Linked DNA regions of Homo sapiens: region 2 is linked to region 1. The links are contacts of gene promoters, found by promoter capture Hi-C in blood cells and fetal thymus (Javierre and others, 2016). All regions are on one chromosome and are shown on one strand. Each heading gives the region's core, a stretch centred on a gene start or on the middle of the fragment in contact. The rest is flanking DNA. Distances are from core to core; before and after follow the strand shown.

Evidence for each region. The method cuts DNA at HindIII sites, captures the fragments that hold promoters and counts their contacts. A CHiCAGO score of 5 or more calls a contact.
Region 2: a fragment that was not itself captured here is called in contact with the fragment with the promoter of DNASE2 in region 1 in 1 of 17 cell types (M0 macrophages); the score reaches 5.5 in M0 macrophages.

Annotation. Positions count from the first base shown.
Region 1 is chr19:12,880,001-12,886,860 of GRCh38, forward strand. It overlaps DNASE2 (deoxyribonuclease 2, lysosomal), which reads right to left and starts at 1,449. Exons shown (of 6, transcript NM_001375.3): 1 at 1,290-1,449; 2 at 972-1,152; 3 at 802-880. The coding sequence starts at 1,375. It overlaps KLF1 (KLF transcription factor 1), which reads right to left. Exons shown (of 3, transcript NM_006563.5): 2 at 5,317-6,142; 3 at 4,422-5,060. The coding sequence ends at 4,885. RefSeq lists enhancers at 980-1,607, 1,267-1,376, 3,801-4,062, 4,935-5,486, 5,384-5,473 and 1 more, cis regulatory regions at 1,271-1,831, 2,571-3,071, 3,611-4,131, 5,011-5,511, 6,091-6,860 and a silencer at 5,624-5,883. The HindIII fragment of the contact is 8,211 bases long and covers 1-4,418 here.
Region 2 is chr19:11,579,821-11,585,826 of GRCh38, forward strand. LOC124904638 (a long non-coding RNA gene) reads left to right here. Exons shown (of 2, transcript XR_007067140.1): 2 at 3,597-3,844. It also overlaps the pseudogene GAPDHP76. Among named protein-coding and RNA genes, the nearest start is that of ACP5, 5.2 kb to the left of the region's middle. RefSeq lists enhancers at 1,964-2,163, 4,065-4,204, 4,215-4,274 and a silencer at 2,299-2,464. The HindIII fragment of the contact is 1,557 bases long and covers 544-2,100 here.

The DNA.
Region 1 (6,860 bases), core at 199-2,698:
AGGCTGAGGCAGAAGAATCGCTTGAACTGGGGAGATGGAGATTGCAGTGAGCTGAGATTGCACCACCGAACTCCAGCCTGGGTGATGGAGAGAGAGTGCCGCAAAAAAAAAAAAAAAAAAAAAAAGCCAGGCGTGGTGGGGGGTACCGGCAGGCCCAGTACTTGGGAGGCTGAGGTAGGAGGATCACCTGAGCCCTGGGAGGTCAAGGCTGCAGTGAGCTGTGATACTGCACTCCAGCCTAGGTGACTGGGTGAGACCTTGTCTAAAAGAAAATAAAATAGGGGAAATAGATGCCCAAGGTCTGACAGGGGAGATCTCCCACCCCACTATGGAGGTCAGGGGTTAGCTTGGAAAAATGCATAGGAACTCGGCTGGGCAGGGTGGCTCATTCCTGTAATCCCAGCACTTTGGGAGGCCAAGGCGGGTAGATCACTTGAGGTAGAAACCAGGAGTTCGAGACCAGCCTGGCCAACATGGTGAAACCTCGTCTGTACTAAAAATATGAAAATTAGCCTGGTGTGATGGTGCGCCTTTAATACCAGCTACTTGGGAGGCTGAGACAGGAGAATTGCTTCAACCCCAGAGGCAGAGATTGCAGTGAGCCAAGATTGTGCCACTGCACTCCAGCTTGGGTGACAGAGCGAACTCCCACCGTCTCAAAAACAAAGAAAAAAAAAAGTTGGGGGGAATAGATGCCCAGGGTCTGACAGTGCAGATCTCCCCGACCACCCCATGCACGTCAGGGGTTACCTTGGAAAAATGGGACCCGAGTCTCTCCCCAGCCCCCAATCCAGGCCTCACCCTTCGTGTGCCCACGCATGGAAGAGTCCTGAGCCTTGCTGGGTTGAGGCGGTTGGTCATTGTAGAGCAGGAAGGCGAGCTGCGGGCGGATAAACGGAGGCAACGTGAAATTCCTCCCAGGCAGGGCAGCCCTAGAGTTTCGCCCCTAGTTGGCCCGGGGCCCCCTTCACCTGGCTGGTGTTGCTCCGGTACAGCGGCTGCAGGCTTCGGCCCACGGCCCCCTCCGGGCTGTTGATGAGTGCCCTGCCGTCCCGCCAGCCTCCGGAGCTCTCGTCCAGATACTTGTACTGCAGCCCTCTCTGCGCCGCCTCCCCGGACCCTCTAAGAGCTGGCAGCTTGTAGACCACGAACCTGGAGGTCGGAGAATGCACAGAAATAGGAGAGAGGGAAGAGAAGGCACCCCAGGGTTCCCCGAGGAGGTAGCCATCCCGGTTGAGTGACCGCAGCCGGACCCCGGGGCGATGGTAGGCCCCCCGCTGCGCACTCACCAGTCTACAGGCTGCCCGGAGTCCCCGTAGCAGGTCAGGGCCCCGGCGGGGACGCACAGCAGCGCTGCCAGCAGCAGCGGGATCATAGCTGCTATGGGGCTGAGATCCAGGAATCTGTGTCGGGACTGCGGGGCGCTGGGTTACATCAGAGGCCAGGACTGGCACCTGGCGCCTTTCACTTCCCTAAACTTGCCTGGGAACCGGGGCGGGGACATCACGAGGGTACAGACTCCTCCCCCGAGACGCGATGCTGCGTTTTGGAGAGGCAAAAGGCAACGCTGAGTCTGCCCAGACCACGCCCACGACGGGCCCGGCGCTCCAGCGTCTCCTGGAGCCTGGCCACCGTTCCTTTTCGTGGTAGCTAATCCCAGCCCACGCTCTTCTGTCTGACCCAACTCCCGCCCGGGTTTCTGGATCAGGCACAAGTTTGTATTTTATTTTTTATTCCAGCCCTACAACCTGGGTCCAACTCTTGGGACCTTTGTTCTTCCTCTTTTTTTTTTTTTTTTTTTTTTTTTTTTTTTGAGACGGAGTTTCACTCTTGTCGCCCAGGCTGGAGTGCAATGGCACGATCTCGGTTCACTGCAACCTCCGCCTTCCTGATTAAAGCGATTATCCTGCCTCAGCCTCCCGAGTAGCTGGGATTACAGGCGCCCGACACCACGCCCGGCTAATTTTTGTAGTTTTAGTAGAGACGGGGTTTTTCCATGTTGACTAGGCTGGTCTCGAACTCCTGACCTCGTGATCCACCAGCCTCGGCCCCCGAAAGTGCCAAGATTGCAGAAGTGAGCCACTGCGCCCCTTAAGAAGCATTTGTGTTCCAGTGTATCTTCCCCTTTTTCTTTCTTTTTTTTTTTCCTTCCTTTTTTTTTTTTTTTTTTCCCGGACAATATCTCGCTCTGTTGCCCAGGCCGGAGTGCAGTGGCGCAATCTTGGCTCACTGCAACCTCTGCCTCCCCAGCTCAAGTGATCCTCTCACCTCAGCCTCCCGAGTAGCTGGGATCACGGGCACATGCCACTATGCCCAGCTAATTTTTGTAGTTTTTTTTTTGAAACACGGTTTCACCATGTGGCTCAGGCTGAACTCCTGAGCTCAAGGGATCCACCTGTCTTGCCTCCCAAAGTGCTGGGATTACAGGCATGTAATCCACGCCACCCAGACTCTCCTTTTTCATTCTGCACGTTTTCTCCAGGATCCCCTGAGCTAGCAAAGAGGTGACTGTATGTTTGTTTTTTGTCGTTTTGAGACAGGATAATGGTTTCTCACCCAGGCTAGAATGCAGTGACTCCATCACAGTTCACTGCAGCCTCAACCTACTGGGCTCAAGAGATCTTCCCAGGTAGCTGGTACTACAGGCCTGTGCCACCACACCCAGATAATTGTTCATTGCAGAGATGAGGGTCTCACTATGTTGCCCAGGCTGCTCTGGAACTCCGGGGTTCAAGTGATTCTCCCACCTCAGCCTCAAAGGATCATGGCAGGGCAAAGGGCTATGGGAATCTGAGTACTGGCTTGAAACTGCCTTTGCAAAAATTATGACAGAAAATTATGTCAGTGAAAGAGCTCTGACCTAACCAACTCCATCTTGCCTTTAATCTCCAAACTGCCCTTGCTTGGTCATTCCTGGAGTGGGGTCAAGCTAACTTTTTTTTTTTTTTTGACACGTTGTCTCACTCTGTCGCCCAGGCTGGAGTCCAGTGGTGTGATCTCAGCTCACTGCAACATCCGCCTCCTAGGTTCAAGCAATCCTCCTGCCTCAGCTTCCTGAGTAGCTGGGATTACAGGCATGCGCCACATGCCCAGCTAATTTTTGTATTTTTGGTAGAGACTGGGTTTCACCATTTTTGGTAGAGATGGGGTTTCACCTTGGGGCTCAGGCTGGTGTCGAACTCCTGGGCTCAAGTGATCTGCCCGCCTCAGCCTGCCAAATTGCTGGGATTAAAGAGGGAGCCACCATGCCTGGCCCCAAGCTAATTTTGGGAGGAATTTAGTTTATAGCTTAAATGATAATAGCCCTTCCCCAAACTAAACTGCCTTTGTAGAAATAATGAAAGGGCACTAGGTTAGGAGGATGAGAGGAGCCTGAATTCTGCTAAACTGTAGGTGTAGTAGTTAAATTATGACCAGCCATTTTTCCGGCCGGGTGCGGTGCCTCACGCCTGTAATCCCAGCACTTTGAGAGGCCGAGGCTGGCAGATTACCTGAGGTCAGGATTTCGAAACCAGCCTGGCCAGCATTTCGAAACCCCATCTCTTCTAAAAATACAAAAATTAGCCCGGCATGGTGGCATGTGCCTGTAATCCTAGCTACCTGGTAGGCTGACACAGGAGAATCACTTGAACCCAGGAGGCAGAGGTTGCAGTGAGCCAAGATGGAACAACTGCACTCCAGCCTGGGCAAGAGCAAGACTCCATCTCAAAAACAAAAACAAAGATGGCCAGCCATTATTCTGGAGGTCACAAGGTTTGCAACTTCCCCAGTTATTTCTGCAAATAACATGACTATTGCAAAACCTAACGCTGGCCTTTTTAGATGTCTTTTTAGGCTTTTTGCATATCTGACAACTGGATGACTCCACCCAGACTAGCGACTCTATGGTCCCCACCCAGAAGCTGACTCAGCAACTGTTTTCCACAGCTCCAGGATTGCAGCAAGGCACCCATTCCCTAGCCCTCCTGCCCACCAAACTGTTCTTGAATAACCCTAGCCTCTGAATTTTCAGGGAGGCTGATTCAAGTAATAAAACTCCCATCTCCCATTTAGCTGGATGTATGTGGATTAAACTCTCTCTATTGCAATCCCTCTGTCTCGATAAATTGGCTCTATCTGGACAGTGGGCAAGATGAACCCCCTGGGCAGTCATAGGCTGTGAACTCTTAAATCCAGGGAGATGTTTGCTGTCAATGTCCGCAGGGTTCAAGGCAGAAGACAAGGACAGTGTAGCCTGAACTGGGTGGGAAAAGAGAGGACAGCAAGGCCTCCAGTGCCCAAGGGGGCTTGTTGGAGTTGAGGGGTGTCACTGTAGTTTAGGAGATGAGGGTGTGTAAGGCCCTCTAATATGACCTCTAGGTTTACAGCCTCCTGCCATCTTCCAGCCTCCAAAACCCAAAAATTCAGGCCAACGCTGAAGCTTTATCTGGGAGGGGCATTTTTATAGGACCCATAACCATTGACAGTTAATATCAGCCACAATAAGGGACCTTCAGGAGCCGCTTTCTAGACCCAGGGTCTCTGGGAAGCCTCATCCCACACCCTCTCCTGCTGTCCAGGGCCATCTGGGAGCTGGTCTGAGTGTCCACTGAGTCCGTTTATTTGGCGGTCTGTCTCACTGGGTTTGCACGACAGTTTGGACATCTCTGTGTGGCTCCCTGTGGCTGAAGGCTTGTCGGATTTTCCGTAAGAGGCTCCCCCAGGGCTGTCTATGGGTCCGTGTTTGATATTTGGGTGGATCTTTGGGAACGCGAGTCCAGGAGAGGGTCCATTCGTGGGAAAACCACCCAGCATTGTGTCACGCGCGTCCGTGTGAAGAGACCACCAAACAGGCTTCTTGTCCCATCCCCAGTCACTAGGAGAGTCCAAGTGCCAGGGCAGGGCTCAAAGGTGGCGCTTCATGTGCAAGGCCAGGTGGTCAGAGCGCGAAAAAGCACGTGGGCAGAGCTGGCAGCGGAAGGGGCGCTGCCCCGTGTGTTTCCGGTAGTGGCGGGTCAGCTCGTCCGAGCGCGCGAATCTCCAGCCGCAGCCTTCCCACGTGCAGGCGTATGGCTTCTCCCCTAGGGGACAAGGAAGCCATAAGCGCCACTGTCTGCCCAGTCATGTCCCCGGGTCCCCTGCATCTGGCCACACCCCTTTACTCAGCCTGGGCTGGGACTAGGATGAACAAAGTGAGGCCCCTAGGGCACAAAATTTAAGGAGGCACTCACTCTCAGAGGCCAGCCAAGTCCAAGTCCCGCCCTCTGCAACCCTTCTTCCCCTGTAACTACAGCGGGCGCCGCGCCCTTTCTCATGTCCGGGGCCCCGCCCCCTCACCTGTGTGCGTGCGCAGATGCGCCTTCAGGTGGGAGCTCTTGGTGTAGCTCTTGCCGCAACCCGGGTGCGCGCACGTGTGCGCTGCCTGCCTCTTGCGCGCCCACGAACGTCGGCCTCGCTTGGATGGCGCGGTCTCGGCTATCACACCTGGATCCTCTGCAGTCCCCCCGAGTCCAGTGCCCACCGTCCCGGGTCCCAAACAACTCAGGAAGGAGGGGGACGTGGCGGGACCGGGCGCGGGTCCCTGGAGCCCGCGGAAGAGCTGGAAGTGCCCTTGGTACTGAGGCGCCGGGTACATCGCGGGGTACCCGGACAGTAGCCCGTAGGGGGCGCCCGACGCCGCAGGCACTGAAAGCCCGGTCCGCGGGAAGTAGCCACCCGAGGAGCCGGCGCCGGGCCCCGGGTACACCGGTTGCAGCGCCAGCGCCTTGGGCTCGGGGGCCGGGGCTGGAGCCAGGGCTGGGCCCACGAAGGCGTCGGGAGCCCGGGCTCGCAGGGCAGGGCGCACCCAACCCGAGTGATCCTCCGAACCCAAAAGCCCAGCCACCAGCCCCGGGCCGCCAGCATATGCGCCCAGAGTCTCGGGCGGCGGCGGATATTGCGCCCCGGAGGCCTCGCTGGGCGCCAGAGCGCAGGTCTGGGGCGCGCCACCGGGCTCCGGGCCCGAGAAGTTGGTGAGGAGGAGATCCAGGTCCCAGGTGGCGTCCGCGCCCCTCTCATCGTCCTCTTCCTCCCCGGGCTGGTCCTCAGACTTCACGTGGAGGGGCGGCTCCGTGGGGTCAGGAGGACCCGGGCCCATGTCCTGCGCCTCTTCGGAGCGCCACCACTGCGGGAGGGAGCAGGCAGCTCGAGGTTCGGTGGACACTGGGGTGCCCTGCCCAGGGACATCGCGGGCTGGACACTCTGACGCAGAGGCTTTGGAAAGGGGTCTTGTTTGCCTGTCTGTCTGTCCCACTTCCCCAACACTGCCCCTCTAACCGCCCCTCTCCCCGCTCCCCCCCCAGCTCCAGGGACAGAAACCGATCAGGTCTGGCTGGAGACAGGAGATAAGACTTCCACTATCTGGAACCACACTCGGGGATGGGGGAAGGGGTAGCAGAGCTGCTGGAGATGGAAAACTGGCAGGGGACGGGGGAGAGGATGCCAGCCTTGACTTAGTTTTCCCCCAGAACATCCCTCTCCTTCCCTGTCTCCCAAAACAAGATTAATTCCGAAATTTTGGATGTCCCCCAGACACACTCATCATTTCCCGCTGATATCTGGAAGATTGTCTGTGAGCCTAGATCTCGTTCCTTTTTTTTTTTTTTTTTCTTGAGATAGGGTCTTACTCTTTTGCCCAGGCTGGAGTGCAGTGGTGCAGCTCACTGTATCCTTAATCTCCTGGGCTCTAATGATCCTCCTGCATCAGCCTACGGAGTACCTGGGACTACAGGCACACGCCCCCATGCCTGGCCTAATGTTTTTGGTATTTTTTGTAGAGATAGGGTTTCACCATGTTGCCCAGGCTACCTTCGTTTTCTATTACCGAAATAGATCACACTTAG
Region 2 (6,006 bases), core at 72-2,571, 1.3 Mb before region 1:
TTTTAGTAGAGACGGGGTTTCTCCATGTTGGCCAGGCTGGTCTCCAATGCCCGATCTCAGGTGATCTGCCCACCTCAGCCTCCCAAAGTTCTGCGATTACAGGCGTGAGTCACCATGCCTGGCCAGTCTCCTGTTTTTTTAAAAACTTATTATTTAGCCGGTGTGGTGTCTCACACCTGTAATCCTGGCACTTTGGGAGGCCGAGGTGAGCGGATCACTTGAGGTCAGGTGTTCCAGACCAGCCTGGGCAACATGGCAAAACCTTGTCTCTACTAAAAAGACAAAAATTAGCTGGAGGTGCTCTCTTGAACCCAGGAGGCAGAGGTTGCAGTGAACTGAGATCATGCCACTGCACTCCAACCCAGGAGGAGGAGGTTGCACTGAGCCAATATCATGCCACTACATTCCAGCCTGGGCGACAGAGCAAGACTCTGTCCCCCCCAAAAAAAAAACAGAAAAAAAAAAAAAGAAAGAAATCTGAAGCAATTATGACCAAATGTTAACATCTGTTTCTTCACGTGGTGGGTACAGGCGTGTTTTGGAAGCTTCTATGCTTCCTGTATTTTGAGATCACACAAAATTATGTTTATTATCTTATTGTGCTACATGATCTTTGTAGAAAAGTTGGTAAATTCTGGAATGCACGAAGAAAAAGATTATAATAGCCAGTAATACCCCTGCCCAGAGAGACAGTATCCATTAATTTTTCTCTGCCTATGTTTGTCTTCGGAAAAATGGGATACTATTGGCACTATTTTATAACTTTTTAATTTGTATTAACACTTTCTATATTTTTTAAATTGAAAAAGCTGGCCAAGCATGGTGGCTCAGGCCTGTAAACCCAGCCAATGTGGGAGGATCGCTTGAGCCCGGGAGTTCAGGAACAGCCTGGGCATCGTGGCGAGACCACATTGCTACAAAAAAAAAAAAAAAAAAAAAAAAAATTAGCCAGGCATGGTGGTGCACACCTGTGGTTCCATCTACTCAGGAAGCTGAGGTGGAGGATCGCTTGAGCCTGGGAGTTTGAGGCTGCAATAAGCTACGAATGCACCACTGACCTTCAGCCTGGGCAACACAGCTAGACTCTTGTCTCAGAGAGAGAGAGAGAGAGAGAGAGAGAGCACAATGAAAAAAATAAACCTGATCTTGCACAGAGCATGTAATAAAACCTGTGCGTTCTTGGCTATCTCTCTCTGGTCTCCTCCAGGGTGCTGAATAAGCTCTTCTCTCTCCATTCACCCAGGAGAACTCTCTTCTGCTGATTTTCTGTGGAGCTAGATCAGGCTGTGACTCAGAATCTCCCTCCACCTCCACCCTTTCCTATTTTCCCAACACCAGTGTCAATCTCAGATGTCAACAACCCCACGAGTGAGTTCCTCCTGTTGCCAATACATCCAGGTCCTGTTCTCCGCTGCTGTCTCTACCCAATCCCTTCCCTTCCTTCCTCCTGCCAATCCTGCTTTCCCTGTTTCTTGCTCCTCTGACCTCCTCCGCATTGCTTGACTGTCTCAGATACACTCTGGCCTCAGGGTCTTGGCACTTTCTGTTCTCCCTGCCTGGAAGGGTCTTCCTTAGTCAGATACTGAGGTCACCCATTGTGTTCAAGTTCCTTTAATTTATCTGAAATGAGTCTGGGCGTGGTGGCTCACGCCTGTAATCCCAGCACTTTGGGAAGCCAAGCCGGGTGGATCACTTGAGGCCAGGAGTTCGAGACCAGCCTGGCCAACATGGTGAAACCCCATCTCTACTAAAAATACAGAAATTAGCTGGGCGTGGTGGCACAAACCTGTGGTCCCAGCTACTCAGGAGGTCGAGGCAGGAGAATTGCTTGAACCTGGGAGGCGGAGGTTGCAGTGAGCCAAGATCGTGCCACTGTACTCTAGCCTGGGTGACAGAGTGAGACTCTGTCTCAAAAAAAAAAAAAAAAAAAGAAAAAGATAATTTATCTGAAATTATCTGAAATGCACCACCCTGCCCCCATCATTGACTCTCCTGTTGCTGTAGTTTTCTCTGCAGCACTTACCAGTGCTTGAGAAAACCACCCACTCATTTATCTTGCTTTCAGTTTCTCTTGCTTTCAGTCTGTCTTCAGTTAATGAAAGCTTTTTTTTTCTTTCTTTTTTCTTTTTCTAAAACAGAGTCACCCAGGCTGGAGACCAGTGATGCGATCACGGCTCACTGCAGACTCGACCTTCTGGGCTCAGGGGATCCTCCCACACCCCTTGGCCTCCTGGGGATTGAGACTACAGGCACACACCACCACACCCAGCTAATTTTTGTATTTTTTGTAGAGAGAGGGATTTGTCACCTTGTCCAGGCTGCTCTTGAACTCCTGAGTTCAAGCAATCCTCCCAACTCAGCCCCTCAAAGTGCTGGGATTACAGGTGTGAACCACTGCCCCTGGCCTGTTTATTTAAAAAATTAACATTCATTCTCAGTTTATTGGCTAAGTTTAGAAGTAGTATCAGAATGTTTAAGAGAACTTACTGTTCTCCTTTTATTTGTATGTTTGCATTGTAGATTTTTAATAACTGATAAGGACTTCTCAAGGTGTTTGCTTGGTGGAGACATTTAAAAAGATTAAAGAATAGGCCAGGTGCAGTGGCTCATGCCTGTAATCCCAGCACTTTGGGAGGCCGAGGCGGGTGGATCAAGAGGTCAGGAGATCGAGACCATCCTGGCTAACATGGTGAAACCCCATCTCTACTATAAATACAAAAAATTACCTGGGTGTGGTGGCACGTGCCTGTAGTCCCAGCTACTCAGGAGGCTGAGGCAGGAGAATCGCTTGAACCCGGGAGGCAGAGGTTGCAGTGAGCTGAGATCGCACCATTGCACTCTAGCCTGGGTGGTAGAGCAAGACTCTGTCTCAAAAAATAATAATAATAAATTAAAAGATTAAAGAATAAGCTGGCACAGTGGCTCACACCTGTCATCCCAACACTTTTTGTAGAGACCTCATCTCTTAAAAATAAAATTAGCTGGGCGTGGTTGTGTGCACCTGTAGCCCAGCTACTCAGGAGGCTGAGGTGGGAGCATTGCTCAGGAGGTCGAGGCTGCAGTGAGCCATGATTGCACCACTGCACTCCAGTCTGGGTGACAGAGCTGATACACTGTCTCTAAAAAATAATAATAATTGACCGGGCGCAGTGGCTCACGCCTGTAATCCCATCACTTTGGGAGGCCGAGGCGGGCGGATCACGAGGTCAGGAGATCGAGAGCAACATGGCTAACACGGTGAAACCCCGTCTCTACTAAAAATACAAAAAAATTAGCTGGGCGTGGTGGTGGGCGCCTGTAGTCCCAGCTACTCGGGAGGCTGAGGCAGGAGAATGGCATGAACCTGGGAGGTGGAGCTTGCAGTGAGCCAAGATCGCGCCACTGCACTCCATCCGGCTTGGGTGACAGAGCGAGACTCCATCTCAAAAAAAAAATTAATAATAATAATTATTATTATAGTAGTAAAAGAGTATAGAATAAAATGCATCACACTTATAAAATGTAAAATGTTAATTTCAATCCACTAAACTTATAAACGGACCCAAATATGCATCCAATGACCTCTTAAAGTGATATTTCTTTTTCTTTTTGTTGAGATGGAGTCTCACTCACTCTGTCACCCAAGCTGGAGCGCAGTGGTGTGATCTTCAGCTCGTCCCAACCTCCGTCTCCCAGGTTCAAGCGATTCTCCTGACCTCAAGTGATCCGTCTGCCTTGGCATCCCAAAGTGCTGGGATTACAGGCCTGAGGCCAGGCCCTGAATTAATTTTTTGATGTTTCACTTTGCCAGGTGTATAAGTAACATGTTAGTTGTGATTGTAACTAAATAAAGGCTTAAGGGAAACCGTGTTTCTAAATTTCTAAATTGACTACACATTTACAAAGGAACCCACAAAGATGGATTTTTGGGCCGGGCGCAGTGGCTCACGCCTGTAATCCCAGCACTTTGGGAGGCTGAGGCAGACAGATTGCCTGAGTTCAGGAGTTCAAGATCAGCCTAGGCAACAAGGTGAAACCCTTTCTCTACTAAAATACAAAAAAATTAGCTGGGCATGGCAGCGAGCACCTGTAATCCCAGCTACTTGGGAGGCTGAGGCCGGAGAATTGCTTGAACCAGGGAGGCAGAGGTTGCAGTGAGTCGAGATCACACCACCGCACTCCAGCCTGGGCAACACAGTGAGACTCGATCTTAAAAAAAAAAAAAAAAGATGGACTTTTTCGGGGCCCCAAGGCTTCAAAATTCAAAATGCTGTCATGAGTTAGTTTGATTTGAGGAACCAAAAATTGGCTTTTGTGGCTGGAGCAGAGTGAGCAAGGGGGAAGTGAATCCGGAAGGTTGAGTCTGCAAGGTCAAGGGCAAGGAACAGAGAAGGGTGTGGGTGGGGCAGGTTGCGTGTGCTCTTGGGGGCTGCAGGGAAGGGGGCTTTTATCTGGGTAAGGTGGGAGCCACAGAGGGTTCTGATCAGAGGGACAGATCTGACTTAGATTTTGCATGATGTCCCCCAGCTGTGGGCTGCGGGGCATGGGCTGCTGAATAGGTGGTTTAGGTGGGCAAAGATGGGTCATGGTGCCCCCTACCCTTTAAAAATTAAAAGACAGGGCCAGGAGCAGTGGCTCACGCCTGTAATCCCAGCACTTTGGGAGGCTGAGGTGGGCGGATCACCTGAGGTCAGGTGTTTGAGACCAGCCTGACCAACAAGGTGAAACCCCATCTCTACTAAAAATACAAAAAAAATTAGCTGGGCGTGGTGGCAGCCACCTGTAATCCCAGCTACTCGGGAGGCTGAGGCAGGAGAATCGCTTGAACCCGGGAAGCAGAGGTTGCAGTGAGCCAAGATCGTGCCACTGCACTCCAGCCTGGGCGACAAGAGCAAGACTGTCTCAAATAATAATAATAGGCCGGGTGTGGTGGCTCACACCTGTAATCCCAGCACTTTGGGAGGTTGAGGTGGGTGGATCACTGGAGCCCAGGAGTTTGAGACAAGCCTGGGTGACACAGTGAGACCCCATCTAAATTATTATTATTATTATTATTTGAGACAGAGTCTTGCTCCATCACCCAGGCTGGAGTGCAGTGGCGCGATCTTGGCTCACTGCAAGCTCCGCCTCCCGGGTTCACGCCATTCTCCTGCCTCAGCCTCCCAAGTAGCTGGGACTACAGGTGCCCGCCACCACGCCCAGCTAATTTTTTGTATTTTTTAGTAGAGACGGGGTTTCACCATGTTAGTAAGGATGGTCTGGATCTCCTGACCTTGTGATCCGCCTGCCTTGGCCTCCCAAGGTGCTGGGATTACAGGCGTGAGCCACCATGCCCAGCCTGAATTTTTTTTCTTAAAGATTAAAAAGGCAGAGCCTCTCTGCTCCTCCCATTTGACAGACAGCCACATCTTTTCATGCAGTGAAAAAGGCATGTCCCCGAGACACCGTGGTGAAAGTGAAGACAGGAGTAAATGGATTTGGCCATATTGGGTGCCTGGTCACCAGGGCACCAGAGCTGCTTTTAACTCTGGCAGAATGGATGTTGTCACCTCAATGACCCCTTCATTGACCTCAACTACATGGTCTACATGTTCCAATATGATTCTACCCACGGCAAGTTCCGCGGCACCATCAAAGCTGAGAAGTGGGCTGGGTGTGGTGGCTCATGCTTGTAATCTCAGCTACTTAGGAGGTTGAGGTGGGAGGATCACTTGAGACCAGGAGTTCAGGACCAGCCTAGGCAACATAGGGAGATCCTCTCTCTCTTAAAAAAAAAAAAAAAGAAAAGAAAAGACTGAGAAAGAGAAGGGAAGCTTGTCATCAATAGGAAATGGGAATCTCATCCCCATCTTCTAGAAGCCAGATCCCAGCAAAATCAAATTGGGTGACGATGCTGGCACTGGTTATGTCATGGAGTCCACCAGCAGCATCTTCACGACCATGGGGAAGGCTGGGGCTCGCTTAGGATGGGCAGCCAAAGGGATCACCATCTCTGCCCCCTCTGCCCATGCCCCCATGTTTGTGATG